2 separate regions of the Homo sapiens genome follow, and region 2 is linked to region 1. Evidence: promoter capture Hi-C in 16 types of primary human blood cells and fetal thymus (Javierre and others, 2016). All regions are on one chromosome and are shown on one strand. The core of a region is centred on a gene start or on the middle of the fragment in contact, and the rest is flanking DNA. Distances in the headings are between cores, read along the strand shown.

Evidence for each region. Contacts are between HindIII fragments. The CHiCAGO score rates a contact against its expected background, and 5 or more counts as called.
Region 2: a fragment that was not itself captured here is called in contact with the fragment with the promoter of EPHA3 in region 1 in 1 of 17 cell types (naive B cells); the score reaches 6.0 in naive B cells.

Annotation. Positions count from the first base shown.
Region 1 is chr3:89,104,542-89,110,994 of GRCh38, forward strand. EPHA3 (EPH receptor A3) reads left to right here and starts at 3,080. Exons shown (of 17, transcript NM_005233.6): 1 at 3,080-3,295. The coding sequence starts at 3,208. RefSeq lists an enhancer at 2,922-3,061. The HindIII fragment of the contact is 3,372 bases long and covers 556-3,927 here.
Region 2 is chr3:88,261,403-88,267,855 of GRCh38, forward strand. No RefSeq gene overlaps it. Among named protein-coding and RNA genes, the nearest start is that of CSNK2A2IP, 74 kb to the right of the region's middle. The HindIII fragment of the contact is 2,033 bases long and covers 2,706-4,738 here.

The DNA.
Region 1 (6,453 bases), core at 1,830-4,329:
TGGAGTTTTCACTTTCATTTTCCCCTCCTTTCTTAAATATGTCAAACTGATCTTTCTAAAATGCAAATTGAACTATTTCTGCCTTGCCCCTCAGCACCCCTGTCCAAGCTTTTTAGAGCAGCTAATACAACTCTTCATGACCCTGCTTCTTCCTAGCCGGTGTCTCCTCTTTCCCATACCCGCTGACACAATTTCGAAATCTATACTCTAATAATAGAGACATTTGTCATTTCCTCCAGAAATCTTGTTTTTCACTTTTCTTTAAAATGCCCCTTTTCAGTTTCCTCTCAATTGCCATCTCCCCCAGGGAACTGTTAATTCCTAACTTGAGTTATGTACTAAATCCAGTTTTCCTTGGGGGAGTATTGTTTGTTTAACCTAAAATGGTCTTCTCATTTTCCCTTTTATCTTTCTTCTTTCTGAGAGATCCTAGTTCAGTTCCTTATCACTTCAGTCTTACTTGAAAAATAGCCTGAAGTCTAACTGGCCTACCTCTAATATTCCCTCCTTCACATTGGGCAGTGGTTCTCCAGGGACCCCAAGGATTACCTGAGAAGCTTTTGTGAAATTGCAGATTCCTGGGTTCCAACCTCGGAGGTTTAGGTCCAGTAAGTCTGTGGTGGGAAGAAGGCATCACTTCTTAATAAGCATTGCACCCAGGTGGAGACATCCTGTTTTATGCTATTAGTAAACTTTTGTCCCCAGACTGAGACATGATCAATTTACTACTTGCTGAAATGCTTTTGATGTCTCTCTTTAGTTTAAAATATATTGTAAAATCATTGACATGTGGCATCGAAATCTCTGTAGTTTTCAACCAGTCCTTTGAAGAATATTTCCCTACATTTTGTCTCCAATCCATACCTCCTCCTATTCCGGCCCTTTACCTACCACAAATACTCTAATATACTCTGTATTCCATATGTGCCAAATGCTTTCATTTTTGGCTCACTTGGACACTCTCTGGACTTGCCTGCCTGCAGTTCCTTCTGAATCATTTTCTTACTAGTGAACTCCTACCCATCCTTCAAGCTGCAACTCAACTACCACTTTCTTAATAAGGGCTTCCCTGCATCTGCTGCCCCCACCTCATCCTTTCCACTCCTGCTATGGTTGCTCTTCTCTGCTTATTGGCATCACTCCCTTTTCCCCATCTGTCCAGAATGGCGCCTACATAATGGAAACCTTTTACTTTTCACTAGAGAGTTGACAATTTAGAGATTCTATATCATTTACATTCTATTTTCAGGCCAGGTATTGCTTTGTACTCATTTTGCCACTCCTGTAGCTTTCTGCAAACATGAATGCCTTTTTTCCCAGTGACAAGCAGTTTTTAAGTTTTCAAGTGTGAAAAGAGAAATAGCATGAGGGGCGCCAATGGATCTGCGTGTCAGCACATTGGCAGATTCTCCAAAATGTTTTCAAATTGTCAATTCCAAATAAGATTTTAGTTTCTTTCAAGTTTCAGAAAACGTGTATCTAACTTTGGAACAATGTAAGTGTTGTGCTGGAACTTTGAAAAAACACCAGAGTCACCACTGTCTAAGTTCTCTGGGCAGTATCTGCTATTATTTTCAATTCTGACAGACTTGGCACTTGAGGATTGCGCAGCCTCTGGTGACACAATGTGGAAAGAAGTTAGAGACACAAAGTAACATGGCATACACAGAAAAGTGAGAAGGATCTCTCTTTTCCCCTGGCTGCTTCTATCCACCCCAATTCCCCACCCCAGTCATCAAACTATTATCTGGCACCATTAACTTAAATTCAAGTGAAAATTGTGTTCTCTAACTAAAAACATTGAGTTTGTGGACTGAATACATTATTAGCAAGGGCTTTTCAAACTTTCATTTAAGTTTCATTATCAAGAGCTCTAAAATTGATCACTGATCTTAAGATTATCAACATACCTTTATTTTCTGAAGTTGTGAGAGGAATATAATAATCTTGTTTTCTTTTTAGTATAAGAAGAGATAGATGGGCGGAAGGATATCTGAGTAACCATTTTCTGGGAGATATTTTAAAGATAAGTGATGCTGGTTATTAAAATATAAATTACAAAATTGTTTGGCTGAACTAGATTGCAATAGGTTGTTCAGCAATGGGATTGGAAATAACAGAGACCATTGATAGTCATGGTGTAAAATAAGTGAGAAAGTACGAGGACATTATTATTTAGCTTTTGGATTTGGAATGTTAAAGAATAAGAATACCCCAATATTATTAGACTATCAGTGGTTGAAAGTTGAATGGAGGAGCTGTGAATTATGCATTGTTTCTCTTGCAGAACCCAGAGATCCTAATGTGAGATGGTGAGGGAGGGGGATATGTATTATTAAGAAATTTAGGTTTGATCTGTATTACTTTTACAACACAGAACGAGAAAAGAATGTAGACCTCCGGCTGGGGTTAGACTTGCTCCCTTCCGTAAGATGATGAAGGTCAACTTCCCTGTTTGAAAAAAAACAAAGTATGCTCTATGTGCGCGGAAAATCACTGTGCCAGATCTAGTAAAAAGCCACGATACCATTGGGTGTGGAAATGCAGAGACCCTCTGATTCAGGCTGTGTATTAGTGTCTTTCTGAATCACAAAGAACTCATGGAGAGTTATGATCACATTGAACACAGTAAAGGAATAACTATAATCATTTTTTTCAATTATACAAACATGATTGACTTTTTAACGAAAGACTGCTATTCTTTCAAAACACACGTTTCTCTCGCATTTCAGTTCCTTTTGCACTCACATTGCCATATGATACTCCTATCAAGGCTGTGATTTCTTCGGTGAATTAAGCAACAGAGCATGGATAGCAAACAATAAAACAGCTACTTTTCATGCAACACAAAAGAGGGAGCATTTTTCTCAGCACCGCGGCCTCATCACATCTTCTGTGTTTCCTGTCCCATGGGCGACGCCCCCACTCCCACCCGGTCTCCTTCCCGAGCAGCTCTGGGCTGCAGAGCCAGCTGCGTGCCATCCCGCTCTGCTTCAGCGCACGCTGAAGACGGCACTAGGACCCAGGGAAGTCCCCGAGCGGGGTTCGCGGAAAGGCAGCCAGACTCCTCCTTATCTCCAGTGTCAAACTTGACATCAGCCTGCGAGCGGAGCATGGTAACTTCTCCAGCAATCAGAGCGCTCCCCCTCACATCAGTGGCATGCTTCATGGAGATATGCTCCTCTCACTGCCCTCTGCACCAGCAACATGGATTGTCAGCTCTCCATCCTCCTCCTTCTCAGCTGCTCTGTTCTCGACAGCTTCGGGGAACTGATTCCGCAGCCTTCCAATGAAGGTAAGCCAGGTACCGCGACGCACGGAGCTCTGCCCCGCGGGGCTCACGCTCTTCAAAGCACGTTCTCACCGAAGCCTTGCACGTCGGGAAGGTGCCTCCGAATAGAGCAGTTTGCTCTGAGAGTGAAGGAAAGATGTGCCTTTTTTTTTTCCAACTGTCTTCTAAAACACTTCAGGAGATAATTTTAGATGGTCTAAACTTTGAAAATGTGTTTTTAATCTGACACCATTTCGAGCAATTACCTTGTTTGCCAATTTGAGCAGAAAGAAAGAAAGAAAATCCTCCAGCGTTGCAACCCAGTTATGTTAATTGCCAAATAGCCAAGGCAGTATTTTATTTTCTAATTATGACCATGTGGTACTCCGAGAAGTTTGAAAGAAAATTCAGCCTTCCTCTCTAGACTCTTTAGTATGTTTAAAGGTAATGACAGGTTGTTCCTACTTGGGATCATGGCATTTATGAATGGACTAAAGGGAAATCAGAGTTTGTCGAAGCGGAGGTGCGTGTTTATGGTGCAAGGGCTGTGTTGAAGTTGTGTGTATCCCGCCAGGCAATGGTTTGCTCTATGGTACAGGTTCTAAAGAGCAGCATATGCCACATTAACGTAAGTAATATTTGCAAGAATTACAATAAGCTTAGGTTGGATTCTCTTTGTTTAAAGGCTTATATACAAATAGGAGAATGTATTTAATGAATAGTGGATAGCTCCTGGGAAGATATAGTAAATAACTGAATAGTAGATTAAGAGAGAATGTTCATATGCAGCAAATGGCATTTCCTTGATGTTGTGTTATTTATTATCCTTGTAATGAGCATTAATTCCTTTTCAGTGGGTTAAAGTGCAAACCTAATGTTAAGGACACCAATGTGTTCTATAAGATTGTGTACTTAATACATACATTTTCTTTCTCCTGTATTCCTTTTGTGATCTATTCTTGTGAATACAGTCACTAACTCGTAAAACAAACTTCTCTAAATAATTGATTAGTGTAAAGCCACACTTACAACATTAATTTCCTCTTAGTGATTTTGAACTTATAACAGTAACATTTAGCAATTTATTTTGCAAGTTAACAATACCGAGCAACTGATGTGCAAACATCATGTTATATACATCACTCCTTAGAAAATATATTGTCAAGCCAATACTGTTGTATATGTACCTTAATTTTAAAAACACGAGTAAAAACAAAATACTTAGAAAGTTTTTTATTAAATGTAATAACTGCCTGATACTCGGTGACCTACTTTCACTGCTAATAGAGCAGTAATTTATCTCCTTCCTTACTGACTGCCTTTATCAATTTGGCAGTTTTCATTAAATGTTCTGAATCTTTTTTCTAAATAAGAAAATGAAAATTCTAAAATATAAGGATCAAGAAAATTATCTTACCCACAAATGACTTTTTATTTTACAAACCAAATTAAAATGTTTATTTGAAAGTAAGAGTCAATCATTCTTCCTGAATGAAAGGTAAGAGTATTCATTTGTATAACGGGTAACATGTATAATAGGTAACATATCAATAAATTAAACTTAATGTTTTAAAAATTTTTGTTCTTTGCAGATATTAAAATATTGACAATAACTAGAAAAATAGTATTAAAATTCCCACATTGTCATGATAAATTATATTTTCCAGATAGAATGGTTATGAACTATGTAGATATGGATATTACTGAATTAATTATGCACAAGAATGTAGCTGTTAGTCAGTATTTTTGTGGAAAACAACCTTTAAGTAAACTGCAAGAGAAAAAAAAAGACACCAAACTATTTCACACCTATGTAAAATTAATCAGTATTAATTTAATGAAACAGAGTTAATCAAATACAAATTGCTTTTAAGCCTCACCTCATGTATGTTTGGGGATATAATGTATATAATTATACAGACAGGTACACATTAACCATATGGATATAGAAAGGTAAATATATTCAGAAAGCTGACATAATTGCATTTAATTTGCTTGGATGAAAGTTTATCCATCATTCATGGGATTATTCCTTCCAGATTGTGTCCTATGGGTAGTGTCTCTTTTCCTTCCTGTGATTGTGAAGGGAAGCTTTAAAACAAATTTAAGATGATTTAACTTAGGTAATACTTGAGTGAGATTTTAAATATTATCCATAGCTGGGCTCTCAGTTGAGTTGAATAACATGAAAAGTGAAAATGCCAAGTATGTGCCAAGATTTCCGTGCAATTTTTCTAACAATGTAATTTAAATAGAAAGCAATTCTTTTGAAAATGTATATATGAGAGGAGTGGTGATTTAAAAATGGTATTAATGTAGTTTTCTGATATAATTTTTTAATTTTGAAATATGAAATACTAGACTGTATTTAAAATATTATGATTGAAATATTTCAACACTGTAAAAAATTTATGAGAAATTTACTGAAACATATTTACTAGAATATATTCTTCAATCTGTTATGAAGTTAGGCATTTGAGAACCAAAGAGAACAAAACCAGGCCATTGACTTAATTGCTAGGACATTTGCAGTTGTGTGATGTGTTTTTTAATTTAAGATTTAATCATTAAACATCAATATTGAAATGCCATGGGTCCCTGATAAGAAAAATAACTTAGAAAATGTTTAATCTGAATTTTCCTTCTATTAATGTATTTACAAATATCTCTCTTATATGCTTTCAAGAAAATGACTCCAGGTGATAATAGGGACTCATCAACGATAACAGATATTCATAATTCCAATGATCACTTGACTCAGCAATTGGCCTATATACTTAAACAGAACTTTATAAAAACTTTATTAAATTCTTATCAGGTCTCTCTGTTTACATGGCTTAAGAAAAGACTTTTAATGGGAGATCAGCTGTTTTTCATGGCAAAATATGATTGCTACACTACGTATTATTTTAAAAGTTCATATACTTACTCCTAGTTTCCATACCACAGGGATGATTAATGGTAAACAGAAATAACATTGGAACAAAGTTAAAACTGGATATAAAATAAAATTATCAACTGTGGTTACTTCAACCCTTTCAGAATTGGTAAAAATACTTTCTTTAAACACTTTTATACATTTATGGCAGTCTGGGGTACAATGCACTATTAATTCATCAGCACATAATACACTAAATCATTTTTTCTATCCAAAAGAGTTCATAAATTGGATTAACATTTAC
Region 2 (6,453 bases), core at 2,472-4,971, 840 kb before region 1:
CGGTGACTAATTGACAATTGTTACATTAAGCACCACCTATCTCAAAATAACTTATTTTGCAAGTGATTTCTTTGGTTCTCAGAATCTTAGAAATCAGAAGTGGAATTCTATTAGGAGATTTATTTTTATTTCTCTTGTAACACAAGGTGAAACCTCTGGATATGTCTTGAATCAGAAAGCACAAGGCATTTACGGACAGAAGCTAGAAATTAATAGGGACATGTTTTTTGGCTAAATATTTATTTATTAAATATATAAATATATATTTGTTAAATATATAATATATATTATTTATTAAATATATAAATATATATTTATTAAATATATAATATATATTATTTATTAAATATATAAATATATATTTATTAAATATATAATATATATTATTTAATAAATATATAATATATATTATTTATTGAATATATAAATATATATTTATTAAATATATAATATATATTATTTATTAAATATATAAATATATATTTATTAAATGTATAATATATATTATTTATTAAATATATAAATATATATTTATTAAATATATAATATATATTATTTATTAAATATATAATATATATTATTTATTAAATATATAAATATATATTTAATAAATATATAATATATATTATTTATTAAATATATAATAAGTATATATTAAATATTTATTTACAATTCTATCAGCGTTTAGGCTTGTATGGCTAGTTCTAAAATTATCTACTTCTATATAATCAAAATAATAAACTCCATGTGGACTTTTAAGTTGTCATACACAGTTTAGATTTTGTAGTGTCCATAGATCACCATTCTCAGTTGTTACCCCGTGTTATTTCATCGTGATACCTCACTTATAGGAAAAAAATTGAGTAAACTGTCTTCTGAAGATTATAATAGAAAAATTAGTTTCCTTATTCTCATTTTAATTTTAGAAATTTCTCATATTCTAGGCATTATAATTTATCTTTTATATTTGTTTAGATTTGTTTTTAAGTGATACAATTATTGATTTACATTTTAAACCAATATATGCTTTAAATGAACACAAGTCTAAATTACAAGCAATTAGATTTTAAGTTGTTTATTTAAACACTTGATTTACTTATAATAGAAAAATTGATTATTTAAAAATATTCTGCTTTTTAGGGCCAGGCATGGTGCCTCCCGCCTGTAATCCCAGCACTTTGGGAGGCTGCGGTGGGTGGGTTGCCTGAGCCCAGGAGTTTGAGACTAGCCTGGGCAACATAGTGAAACCCCGACTCTACAAAAAATACAAGAGTTAGCCAGGCATGGTGGCATGTGCCTGTGGTCCCAGCTTCTCAGGAGGCTGAAGTGGAAGGCTCGCTTGAGCCTGGGAGGTTGAGGCTGCAGTGAGCTGTGTTTGCACTACTGCACTCTAGCCTTGGTGACAAAGTGAGACACTGCCTCAAAAGAAAAATATCTGCTTTTTAAAAGGTGGTGTTGTATCAATGGGGACATAAAATCACTATACTTTTTGTTTATTCCTGCAAATATTCATAGGAAGTAAAAGAGAGCAGAACACATTAATATAACTTCAGATATACGGTGGACATTGCTTTGTTGAATTGAGTTCAGGGGTTGCCGATGTCTGAATTACTCTGTAAAAAGACAGAATTTGTTTTTTCTTCTGAAAGGGTGGGCACAGGGAAAAGGAGGAAGGGGAAGAGGAAAGAGTAGACAGAGTAGACAGTAAAAAGGAGGGCTGAGCCACCTGATGGGGTGTGTGAAGTGTTCTTAGGCTCTAACATTGAATTTAAATTTTTTTTTGCTGCTTTCAAGTATAACTTCTTCCTCTCTCCAAGATTTTTATTAAAGTCTGCAACAACAAAGGACTTTTGTGTGTGAGTGTAGATCAAGGAGAAGGGTTAGAGGTGAAGTCATAGTAATTTAAATTTAACATTCATTTCCTCATTCTTTTTTAGTAATTAGAATAAAATATTATTCTCATTTTACCTCTTAAATTTTGAAATAAACATTAATATTACAGTATTCACAAATAGAACACAGCAATCTTATATCATTTTCAAGTGACACAAGGGTCGTTTTAAGTCTCCAAGGAATGCATGGCAATGGCAATGTTCATGCAGCTGGTCATCAGCACCCGGCACGGTGGTGTGAGTCAAAGCCTGGAGTAGTGTTAACAGCTCTGAGTGCACATTTACACAACACCATAATGATGGGAAAGTATGATCCATTGGCAATTCACAGGCTGAGTTTACGTCACCAACTGATTTATAGTATGCACTATTATTACCCTGTGTCACAGAATATAGAAGTCAGGCACCCATTTGCATATAGTGGGTATGCAACCATTTGACACCTCATCAAGCATTTGAAAAGAAAAGAGGATTTCAAGTGATATTAATGGTATTAGCGGTAATACTAGGTTGCACAGACTCTTCTTTTATTTGGTTTTTAATGTTTTAACCAGCAATTGTAATCTCTCAACACTGGGGCTTAGTTGTAGTGAGGTCACTGTGTGTCCTTCCTGTAATGTGGTACAGCGTTCATCTCAATTGCTACAGTGTCGTAAAGTTATAATGGGATTATTCTTTCACATGCACAATCCCTGGATTTCAAAATGCAAATCTCAGGAGATTACAGTTAAACACTGTGTTATTGACCTAATTTCTCCGATGGTTTAAATTCATTTATATTTTTATCTGCAAAATTTTATGCTTATAATTGTAAGCTTATTCAGTATGCTCAATATTCTAGTTCATGACAACTCAGCTCCATACCATCCCATTAGATGACCTAGCGGGCTGAATGAATAATTACAGAATCAGTTACATGAATGCCTGCATATACATGTATGTGTACGTATTTAAAACAATAAATATAAATGCTAGTTTTAATTTACATTATATTGAATAATTTCCTGATAGATTAGTTTTCTACTATCTGTGTCATGTCATATCATGGTTTAAGATAACTGAAAATGTTTTTAGGATTGTTGAGAGAAGAGAAAACAGATAGAAATACTTTAGAATAAAATGCTCAATTTTACCATAATATTTAGTACCCGTACAATCTTATGAAGAGATTCATACTACCTACAGTATAAATTATTGGATAATTTATTTCCATTTTTTTGCTAACCAAATTCCCACAACTATGATGTAAAAGATATATATGACTTATTATTTCTGAAATCAAAGTTCATTTTTCTTTCCATTAAGGCAACCATGAAATTTTGTTGATAATAAGATTGCGTTAGTTTAGATTTATTTGTTGCTATAATTTAGTTTTAGAAAGCATTGACTAGGAAAAATTATAATCTGTTAGAGAAGCATATATTTACTTTTTGATGTATTAAAATGAACACTGATTTGCTCAATAAGAATTTGTGTAAATAGTGTTATATTTGGTGTCCAATATGTTCACTTGTATACGCACAAAGAGGGCTCACCGTGGAAAGATCTGTGGGGAGGTTAGATTGGTATCCTCGTCTCCTGAGAACCATTTTACCCCCCACATGCTCCATTCCTCATGCTTCGTTGCTATCTCTTCTTTCAAATATGTTAGCGGTAAAATGGCTTAAGTGAGATAGACAGGTATATTCTGAAAGAAATATATATTTATTATTTACTTAATGCTATGTAAATATTGTAAAATGAAGGAGAGCACATTTTCATGATTCTGGAAATTTTTGTTAGTTTTAAATATATATATATGTTTGAAAACCAATGTCCGTGGCAATCTTGGTTGGCAAATACATTTCTATCTCCAACCCCTTTCTTATGCATCCATTAGAAATCAGAAAAATCAGGCCAGGCATGGTGGTTCACGCCTGTAATCCCAGCACTTTGGGAGGCTGAGATGGGTGGATCACCTGAGGTCAGGAGTTCGAGGCCAGCCTGGCCAACGTAGTGAGACCCTGTCTCTACTAAAAATACAAAAAATTAGCTGGGCGTGGTGGAAGACACCTGAAATCCCAGCTACTTGGGAGGCTGGGGCAGGAGAATCGCTTGAACCCAGGAGGCAGGGGTTGCAACGAGCCGAGATTGCACCACTGTACTCCAGCTTGGGCAACAAAAGTGAAACTCCCTTAAAAAAAAAAAAAAAAGGAATCAGAAAAAATCTTAATTCTCACTTTCCTAGCTTCCCCTATGATCAAGAGTCACTATGGGACACAGTTCACAGATGCAAGTACAGGTATTCTGGGAAAGATTTTACTGGTGGCACACCTTCCTTGTTCTTTTTGTTGATACTGATATAATGTTTGGTACTTTGGAAGCTATTTTGTGAACCTGTGGTAGTAAATATGAGGAAAAGATCCAGAGTACTAGGAATCCAACCCCAGCAGCCAATTCCCTGTACCTGTGTGCCCCAATATGGTAGTCACTAGCTCCAGCTGGCTAATGAGCCCTTCAAGTCCAGCTAGTCTGAATGGGGATGGGCTGCAGGTGTAAAATGTGCACTGAATTTTAAAGCCTTAGTATGAAAAAAAGGAAGAAAATTACCTTAATAATTTTAATATCGATTGCATGTTGAAATGATCATATTTGGATATATTAGGTTAAATAAAAGGTATTATTAAAACTAATTTTATCTGTTTCCTTTACTTTTTTTAAATGTGTCTGCTAGAATGTTTTCTATATATGGCCTGTGCTTGTTTCTCACATTATATTTCTATTGGGCAGCACTTCTCTCCACTTCTTTTTGTGTGAAAAAAGCTATATTTAGGCCAATAAAGTTTGGGCTGGTGGTTATGGCTGAAAGCTTCATGGAAGTCATTGCTTAGTCTTTCCTGTACAAAAGAACAGATGCTGTAGTTGTAATCAAACCCTACTATAGGCTTTACTTTTGTGCTCATCCAATACTACCTTCTGGTTGTTATTAGTTTTAAATGTTCATATGTTTTAAACAGTAAAATGAAGTAGACGTGGGTGCACATCTAGGCTGAACTTCTTATCGCCCATGGATATTAAGCAAGTTATTTAACCTCCCGGTGCCTCAGTTCCCCTAGTTTTAAAACAAACAAGATAATGCCTAACCTAGCTTATAAGACTGTGTAAGAATTAAGTGATAGAGTTTATATGAAGTGGGTAACTTGTATGCTTTGTACATAGTTGTTGCTTAAGGTGTGGTAGGTCTTATTAGAAAAGGGTAAATCTCAGGGTCTCTAGCAGTATTTGAGTCAATAAAGGAGTGGGTGGAGGGAAAGTTGTTAAGAAAATGTGTAGCTGGTCATTGTATTGAGTGGTGAAAACTTGATGTCAGGCTCAGGAGGGCTCTGGGTGGGAGACAAGGCTTGGTCCTCCTTGAGGGTCCTGCCAGAAGCCCCTCTCCTACTCTTAGCTATCGCCTTTTCCATTTTCTCTTTGCAAGGCCAGTGAAGTTTGGGATCCAGCCCGCATAAAAAATTGGGAATAGTTGTCGGGCGCGGTGGCTCACGCCTGTAATCCCAGCACTTTGGGAGGCCGAGGCGGGCAGATCAGAAGGTCAGGAGATAGAGACCATCCTGGCTAACACGGTTAAACCCCGTCTCTACTAAAAAATACAAAAAATTAGCCGGGCGTGGTGGCTGGCGCCCGTAGTCCCAGCTGCTCCGGAGGTTGAGGCGGGAGAATGGCGTGAACCCGGGAGGCGGAGCTTGCAGTGAGCCGAGGTCGCGCCACTGCACTCCAGTCTGGGCGAGAGAGCGAGACTCCGTCTCAAAAAAAAAGAAAAAAAAAAAAAAATGGGAAAGCAGTGCAGCCCTAGTCAGGAAAGGAAAAGCAGTGTGATGATGAACTTACAGAAAAGAAGCTTGTTTGACTTAGGGAATATGTACAATTTGTTTTTTGTTTATTTTTCTGAGTTTGCCCATGTTGGCACACATGTTTAGGAAGATAGTTTTGTATTATCTTAAATGTTTTAAAGGAGAAAGGGAAAGATAAGAGTAGTAAGACCAGAGTAGTAAATAGTATTAATGCTGATATGGGGGAGATGTAGGCCTCCGGCAGGTGCTCTTGAGAGAAAAGGGAAATCCACAGAAATACAACCATAATCATCCATGCATTTTCCCCGCCACACCACACACTACATGTGGCCCCCAAAACATCCAACGGCTAGCAGTATCACTGCTGAGATACATGATTTAATAAAAGAGTCAGTGATATTGCAGTGAATATTTCAAATGCGACATTTTAAGAAGAGCACAATTGAGAAAGAGAGGAACTTAAAACGGATTAAAATTTAAGCAATTCCCAATCAAATGGAAGTGTTCTGGGAAGAGTGCCAGAGAGTATTGTTGAACTGGTTTTAATAAAAACATTCTAAATTTATCCAGCTGAAATTATTTACAATTTTTTGAAATTACGTATGTGGATACGTTGTATGGACACTTAAAATACAATATTTATTCTTTTTAAAAAACCAAAACCTGCTCTTGTTGGCTGAGGATTCAGGGGATATAGTATGTTCAGAATGCAGAATCCCTGAATTTTAAGA